Regions from separate parts of the Homo sapiens genome. Here region 1 is linked to region 2. Evidence: promoter capture Hi-C in human tissues and cell types (Jung and others, 2019). All regions are on one chromosome and are shown on one strand. Each heading gives the region's core, a stretch centred on a gene start or on the middle of the fragment in contact. The rest is flanking DNA. Distances are from core to core; before and after follow the strand shown. Region 1 has its middle 220 kb from the start of BMP2. Region 2 holds the start of FERMT1 (FERM domain containing kindlin 1).

Evidence for each region. Contacts are between HindIII fragments. The study calls those that stand out against the background at their distance.
Region 1: a fragment that was not itself captured here is called in contact with the fragment with the promoter of FERMT1 in region 2 in 1 of the 25 tissues and cell types used here (mesenchymal stem cells).

Annotation. Positions count from the first base shown.
Region 1 is chr20:6,984,889-6,988,573 of GRCh38, reverse strand. No RefSeq gene overlaps it. Among named protein-coding and RNA genes, the nearest start is that of BMP2, 220 kb to the right of the region's middle. The HindIII fragment of the contact is 4,686 bases long and covers 1-3,685 here.
Region 2 is chr20:6,121,609-6,125,586 of GRCh38, reverse strand. It overlaps FERMT1 (FERM domain containing kindlin 1), which reads left to right and starts at 2,557. Exons shown (of 15, transcript NM_017671.5): 1 at 2,557-2,813. RefSeq lists a silencer at 2,552-2,671. The HindIII fragment of the contact is 15,378 bases long and covers 1-3,978 here.

The sequences.
Region 1 (3,685 bases), core at 243-2,742, 860 kb before region 2:
GAGAGAAAGATTCTTGCTATTGTTGCTAGGCTGGCTTCTTGAACTCCTGGACTCAGGCGATCCTCTCACCTCAGCCTCCTGAGTAGCTGGAATTAGAGGTGTGTGCTACCACTCATGGCTAGTACCTGACAAATTTTCTTACATTATTTTGTTGATAATGTCCTCCTCCCTATTTTTTCTGTTCTCATCTTTTCAAACACTTAGTAACTGCGTATTAGGTCACCTAGAATCATCTGATAGTATTCTTATAACTGCTATAACACATCTCATTTTCTTTTTATTTCTATAATTTGGACATTTCCCTCAAATTTATTTTCCAAAACTTCTTTTTTTAAAATTTTAATCCTATTATTAATTTACAAGATCTCATTCTATTCTTTGTTCCATTTTGACAACATTTTAATATGCAATGGTTATAATATCTTTATATATCTTTTTAACATGATTAATAAGAATTTCTTTAAAGCAGTCTTTTCTTCCCTATATTACGTCTTCTTTTTCAGACTTCTTTGTTCTTGTTTGTTATGTTCCATATCTTCCCTGTAGTAGGATTTCCTCAAATGGCTGATGTTGCTTGTTCATCCATTTACTTAACAGTAAAACAACAAATAGTTGAATGGAAGCTTTATTTATGTTTGTGGGGTTTGTACATAGGGGAGGTTGACTCTCAGGTGATTAGATGAAAAGATGGCTGCATCTTTGCATAGAACCAAGTAGAGATACTAGCATCTTTGCTGCTAGCTCAAAACTATGAATCTCCTGGTATTCTTTCTGTAGATCATTTTGGTGCTCCACAAAATTAACCTCCAATGTTATGTCTGGGAAGGGGTATATCTAAAGGCAGGACTACAGGCAGGAAAGGTAGTTCTCACCTTTTGATTTAAAGACTTCTACTTCATGGTATTATAATCAACACAAAACCTCCAGCTTATCCTCTTCGGGGCTCCTCATTCCTAATCACTGAGATTTTTCTAGTCCAATTTCTCTAGAGAATAAACTTCCAAGGCTCTTGCAGGTATTAGGAGTGGGAAGTGTTTGGATCACAAGGGTGGATCCCTCATGTCTTGGTGCTATCTTTGTGTTAGTGAGTTCTCACGAGATCTAGTGGTTGAAAAGTGTGTGGCACCTACCCGGCCCCCACTGCTGTTCTTGCCATGTGATGTGTTTGCTCCTGCTTTGCCTTTTGCCATGATTGAGATCTCCCTGAGGCTTCACCAGAAGCTGAGCAGATGCCAGCACCATGCTCCCTGTAAAGCCTGCAGAACTGTGAGACAGTTAAATGTCTTTGCTTAATAAGTTACCCAGTCTCAGGTATTTTATTAAAGCAATGCAATAATGAACTAATACACAAAATTTCCCACTATTTTTTTTTTTTTTTTTTTTTTACTTTTTGACAACCTGTGGAGAAGATGTCAAAAAATGCTTTATCTATTCTACCATTTGGAAATAAAAGCATTCATTTTCTGTTAATGCCCATACCCTTTTTGCTCTTATAGTTCAAGCTGTACTTTTTACTTTCCTTCTCCTAGCAAGATAGCCTTGCCCACCACCATCCCTAAATGTTTAAAGGCCCAGTTTTTTTCTCAAAATTTTATCTTTAACCTGAACTTTTTGTTTCTTTAACTTTTGTGACTGGCTTTTTTTGTTTTTAACTTTTATTTTAGGTTCAATGTACATGTGCAGATCTCCTATATAGGTAAACTGCGTGTCACAGGGGTTTGCTGGGCAGATTATTTCATTACCCAGGGAATAAGCATAGTGGTGGCGGTTTTTTGACCCTCACCCTCTTCCCAACCTCCACCCTCAAGTACGCCCCAGTGTCTGTTGTTCCCGTATTTGTGTCCAAGGATACTCAGTGTTTAGCTCCCACTTATAAGTGAGAATATGCAGTATTTGGTTTTCTCTTCCTGTGTTAGGTTGCTTAGGATAATGGCCTCCCACTGCATCGATTTTCCTGAAAAGGTCAAGATCTTGTTGTTTTTTTATGGCTGTGTAGTATTTCATGGTGTGTATGTACACATTTTCTTTACCCAATCCACTGTTAATGGGCACCTTGGTTGATTCCATGTCTTTGCTCTTTGCTCTTCTGAATAGTGCTGCAATGAACACACAAGTGCGTGTGTCTTATCGGTAAAGCAATTTATTTTCTTTTGAATACACACCCAGTAATGAAATTGATGGGTCAAATAGTAATTTTGTTTTTGCTTTTGTTTTTGTTTCTTTATTTTGAGACAGAGTTTCACTGTTGTTGCCCAGGCTGTAGCGCAATGGCGTAATCTCAGCTCACCAAAACCTCCGCCTCCTGGGTTCAAGTGATTCTCCTGCCTCAGCTTCCCTAGTAGCTGGGATTACAGGCATGCACCACAGTGACCAGCTAATTTTGTATTTTTAGTAGAGACGGTGTTTCTCCATATTGGTCAGGCTGGTCTCGAACTCCTGATCTCAGGTGATCTGCCCACCTTGGCCTCCCAAAGTGCTGGAATTACAGGCGTGAGCCACCGCACCCAGCCAATTGTTATAAGTTCTTTTGAGAAAAGCCTCAAAACTGCTTTCCACAAGCTTTGGGGTTGGTTTTCTCTTGTTTCTCCAGTTTCTCTAGATGTGATGTTAGGTTGTTAATTTGAGATCTTTCTAATTTTTTGATGTAAGTGTTTAGCACTATAAACTTCCCTCTTGACACTGCTTTAGCATCCCACAGATTCTGTTATGTTGTATCTTTGTTCTCATTAGTTTCTAAGAATTTTCTCTTCCTGCATTAGTTTGGTTTCTACCTTAATTTTATTGTTTACACACAAGTCATTCAGGAGCTGGTTAATTTCTATGTAATTATATTGTTTTGAGCTATTTGTTAGTATTGATTTCAGTTTTTATTGTGCTGTTGTCTGAGAACATGGTTAATATATTTTCATTTTTTAAAAATTTGCTGAGGATTATTTTATGAACAATTGTGTGGTCAATTTTAGAGTATGTGCCATGTACAGATGAGAAGAACGAATATTCTGGAATTTGAGGGTAGAGAGTTCTGTGGATGTCTGTTAGGTCCATTTGGTTAAATGTCAAATTCGGGTCCTAAATGTCTGTTAATTTTCTGCCTCAGTAATCTGTCTAATACTGTCAGTGAGATGCTGAAGTACCCCACTATTTTTGTGTGATTATCCAAGTCTCTTTATAGGTCTCTAACAACTTGTTTTATGAATCTGGGCACTCCTGTGTTGGGTAATAGGTATTTAAGATAGTTAGGTCTTGTTGAATTGAACCCTTTACCATTATGTCATGTGCTTCTTTGTCTTTTTAAATCATTGCTGGTTTAAAGTCTGTTTTGTCTGAAGTTAGAATAGCAACTCCTGCTTTTTTCTGTTTTCCATTTGCTTAGATTTTTTTTCCATCCCTTTACTTCGAGCCTGTGAATGTCATTGTATGTATGATGGGTCACTTGAAGACAACATACAGTGGAGTCCTGCTTCTTTATCCAACTTGCCAGTCTGTGCCTTTTAATAGGGGCATTTAGTCAGTTTACTTTCAAGATTAATATTGATATGTTCAGGTTTGATCCTTTCACTGTGTTGTTAGCTAGTTATTATGAAGACTTGATTGTACGGTTGCTTTATAGCGTGGATGGTCTACGTACTTAAGTGTGTTTCTGTGGTGGCTGGTAATGGTCTTCCTCTTCTATGTTTAGCACTCC
Region 2 (3,978 bases), core at 1,308-3,807:
GGGGCAAAGGGTGTGCTTTTTTTAATATATATGTACAAAATTTTGAAGTTCAGAATACACTTTTTAACCCACTTCTAACCCAGGACCTTGGGGGATGGGTTGGACCTGTGTCACACAAACGACAGTAACCGTGTAATAAGTAAAACATAAAGTTAAATTAAAAGCCTAGGACAGCCGGCCATGGTGACTCACACCTGCAATCCCAACAATTTAGGAGGCTAAGATGGGAGGATGGCTTGAGCCCAGGAGTTCAAGACCAGCTCAGGCAGCTAAATTTAAAAATTAGCCAGGCACGGTGGTTCACACCTGTAGTCCCAGCTTGGGAGCCTGAGACATCAAGGCTGCAGTGAGCCATGATCATGCCACTGCACTCTGACCTGGGGGAGAGCAAGACCCTTTCTCAAAAAAAAAAAAAAAAAAAAAAGCCTAGGACACATAATATGGATAAAACTCACAAACATAATGTTGAACACAAGAAGCCAGACACAAAATAGTGCACATGGTCTGATTCCATTTATATAAAGTACAAAGACAGGCAAAACCCTTCTGAGGAGTTAGAAGATAAGATAATGGTTATCCTGGGCCTGGGGTCGGGGGTAGGGGCAGGCAGCGGCAGTGATCATAACTGAAAGGAATAACTAAAAGGGGTCACTAACGGGCTTCCGAGGACTGGTGATGTCCTGTTTCTTCAACTGGGCACTCTTTATACGCTAGTGTCTTTATATACTCTGTATACAGGTGTGTTCAGTTTGCGAAAACTCATCAGCTATACATTCACGATTTGTGCTCTTATCTATATATATTGTGTATATGTATGGGTGTGTATATATATGATACACATTTATATACACACAAGTCACTACATAAAATTACAAGTTTAAAAATTAACCTAGGCCAAGAAGAACGCTTAAAACCAGTCGAATTCTTTAGCACAATGCAGATATTTTCAATTGAAAAGAGAAAAACCATATTGGTATGAATAGATAGAGCCATAATTCAAGGTCACACATAAAATCTTGACCACAGGCTGGGCACGGTGGATCACACCTGTAATCTTAACACTTTGGGAGGCCGAGGCAGGTAGATCACAAGGTCAAGAGATCAAGACCATCCTGGCCAACATCATGAAACCTGGTCTCTACTAAAAATACAAAAATTGTAGTCCCAGCTGCTCGGGAGACTGAGGCAGGAGAATCACTTGAACCCGGGAGGCGGAGGGTGCAGCAGTGAGCCAAGATCGTGCCACTGCACTCCTGCCTGGGGACAGAACAAGACTCCATCTCAAAAAAATATATGTGTGTGTGTGTGTGTGTGTGTGTGTGTGTGTGTGTTTGTGCGCGCGCGCGCGCGCGCACTGACCACAGTCTAAGTTCTAATGGGCCATAAGCAGGGTTTCATGATGTTAAGAGGTAGGGAAGTGGGACCAGATGACCCTTCCCATCGTTGACAAACGCTACCAAGTGAAGACATTCTGTTTCAAGTTTTTAATGATTTTATTTCAATTATAATATCCTATATTTGCCAACAATGTTCAACTAACCTTTTTAAATTAAATGTACTTTCAAACCCATAATAATTCCTGAATATGGTAATGTTTAAGCGAAAACAGATTCAACTTCTAAATTTTATAACTTCTTTATTAAAATTTAAGTGTTCACAAGCCTTTTAATGCAAATCGCTAAAGCCTGTACTATATTGCATGAAATCCCTCCGTGGAAGAGCACGCATTCTATCTCTGTACCTATTTCACAGATGAGGAAACTGTCATTTCCATGTCTGTTTTATTAACCACTGTATTCTCTGAGCCCAGGCCCATTGGGAGGCCTGTAGAGCAGTAAGCACTCAACAAATGTGATTAAATGAACAAAGGAGGCTTGGAGAGGTTGTGTAAACTGCCCAGGTCACCCACCCTTCCTGGGTGGCCCCAGCCCTCTTTGAAAATAAATCCAACAGGAAGGCGACTGGCGGGACCGGTGGTGATCCTGAGGTGAGCCATACCAGGTGTGGCCCAGACTTCCGCATGCAGCCTGCCCTTGGGTCTCCTGGAGTCTCCCCTGGTCGGGAGCCTCAGCCTTCTGGAGACTGACACCACCCTCTTACTCAGAGACGAATCGTTTTGTCGTTGCCTTCACCTCCCTGACCACAAGTGCTCCGGGGCTCTTTCTGAGGGAGGCAGCTGTTCTAGGCGGGAGGCTGGAGTCTCCTGGGCCTGGACGCACCCCGGGGTGTGAGTGATGGGTATGCCTGAAAGGAGGGGAAGTGGCGCGGCTTTAATCATCTGGGCTAGTCCCCGGCGGGCCTGGGGGAACAGGGAAACTGGAGGCGGCCTTAAAGCGTCAGGATGAGACATCGCAAGAGGAGCTGCAGATACTGAGCGTGCGCCCCGGGTTCTCGCCGCCTTCTCTCCGCCGAGCAGCCCTTCGGCCACCCTTTGCCCTTAAAAATCTGCAGACTGCGCCTCCTCTCCGCGGGAGCGAGACCTAGCAGGCCCGGGGCTGGGCGTGCCCTCGCCTGCCACGCTGCGCGCTGCCCTCAGCCGGGCCGCTGGGGCCGTGCAGTGCACCGGGCACGCCGCGCCAGGCTGGGGGCAGGCACCGAGCCTCCGTGGGAGGTCCCGAGGCAGCTTCGCCTGCTCGCCCTGGCTCCAGCCCTCACCTGCCGCAGCCTTAGCTGAGCAGCCGCCGCCACTGGGCGCCCCCCGCTCCCCACTTCGCCAGCGCCCGCTCCTCGGCTCGGCCCGGGGTAGTTTGTAGGGACGCAGCTCTCCACGTGCGCGACTGCGAGGCTGGACGCTACGGGCTCCTGGAAAGGAGGTGGGTGCTCCGGAGCTAGGGCTGGGGAGCTAGAGGTTGGGAGGCTTTCATGGGCACCAGTGGCTCCTGAGCCCCCTTAGCCCCTTTCTTTCTGCAGCCTCTTGTACTTAAATAGCTGTTGATTGAAAATAATTTCGTCTGGATGTGACCACCTTCTCCGGCCCTACGCATCTGGCCGCAAAATAAACTTTCAGTTCAGCCGCAGGTGCTGCCTTAATGGGAGTAAGGGGCATGCTTTATCCACCCAACATCCGCCCCAGGATCCTGCAGAGCTGGCAAAAGACAGGTCGGGTGGCCTTCGAACACCAAGCACCTTCAGATATTCCAGGGGAAGGGTCGGGGACTGTTTCCCCCTCATCTTTCCTCCTTCCTGCTCTCCATCCCTCCATGCTTTCGTTTCTTTGACTGTCTGCGAAGGGCTTTTCAGCACTCTGCCAGTAACTTTGCTTCTTGTTTTGGTCTCCTTAGATGCGTTTTCCCGGCTGAAGTTTGCTGCTATCCTTGACAAGTAACAGCTTGCTGCAGACTAGACGTTCACTCAAAAATGAAGGCACAGAAAGATAGGAAAGGAATGCAGGAAAACCAGCTTGGCTAATTTTAGCCTGCATTTTGTTGTAAGGGGAATCAGCATCTATTGCCTGAATGAGTAGTGTTTTGATCACCCAAGTTAGGAAAAGACCTTATATCAGATTGCCCAGTGAAATAAGCAGTAAGGAATCACCTTTAAAAGTTATTTTCTTTATATACAAAACATTTTAAATAACTAGACTTCACAATTATAGCATTTAAGAAATTGTAAGGATCTTAAAGTCGAACAGTTCAATGCCAAGTTATGAGTTTGACGATGAAGGGGCATCTTTTGTCTCCTCACTGCGCAAGATTTGTGTTGATAGAAATGCTTAGTAAAGGCTACTGAGAATTTAGTTCACGTAGTTTGAGGAGTTTTCTTTCATTTTGGCATTGCAACATTATCAAAGTGGTTTCCCAGTGTGGTGAATAAGAGTTTGAAATAGAAAGGCAGACCTGGATTTCCACCTGGGCTCCAGCATCTAACTTGCTGTGTGACCTCAGGCAACTTGCTTCATCTCTCTGAGGCTGAGTTTCCTCATTTCTAAATGAGATTGCTGAGAGGATGAAAAAGGGATAACAGAAGACAGGAGTTAAC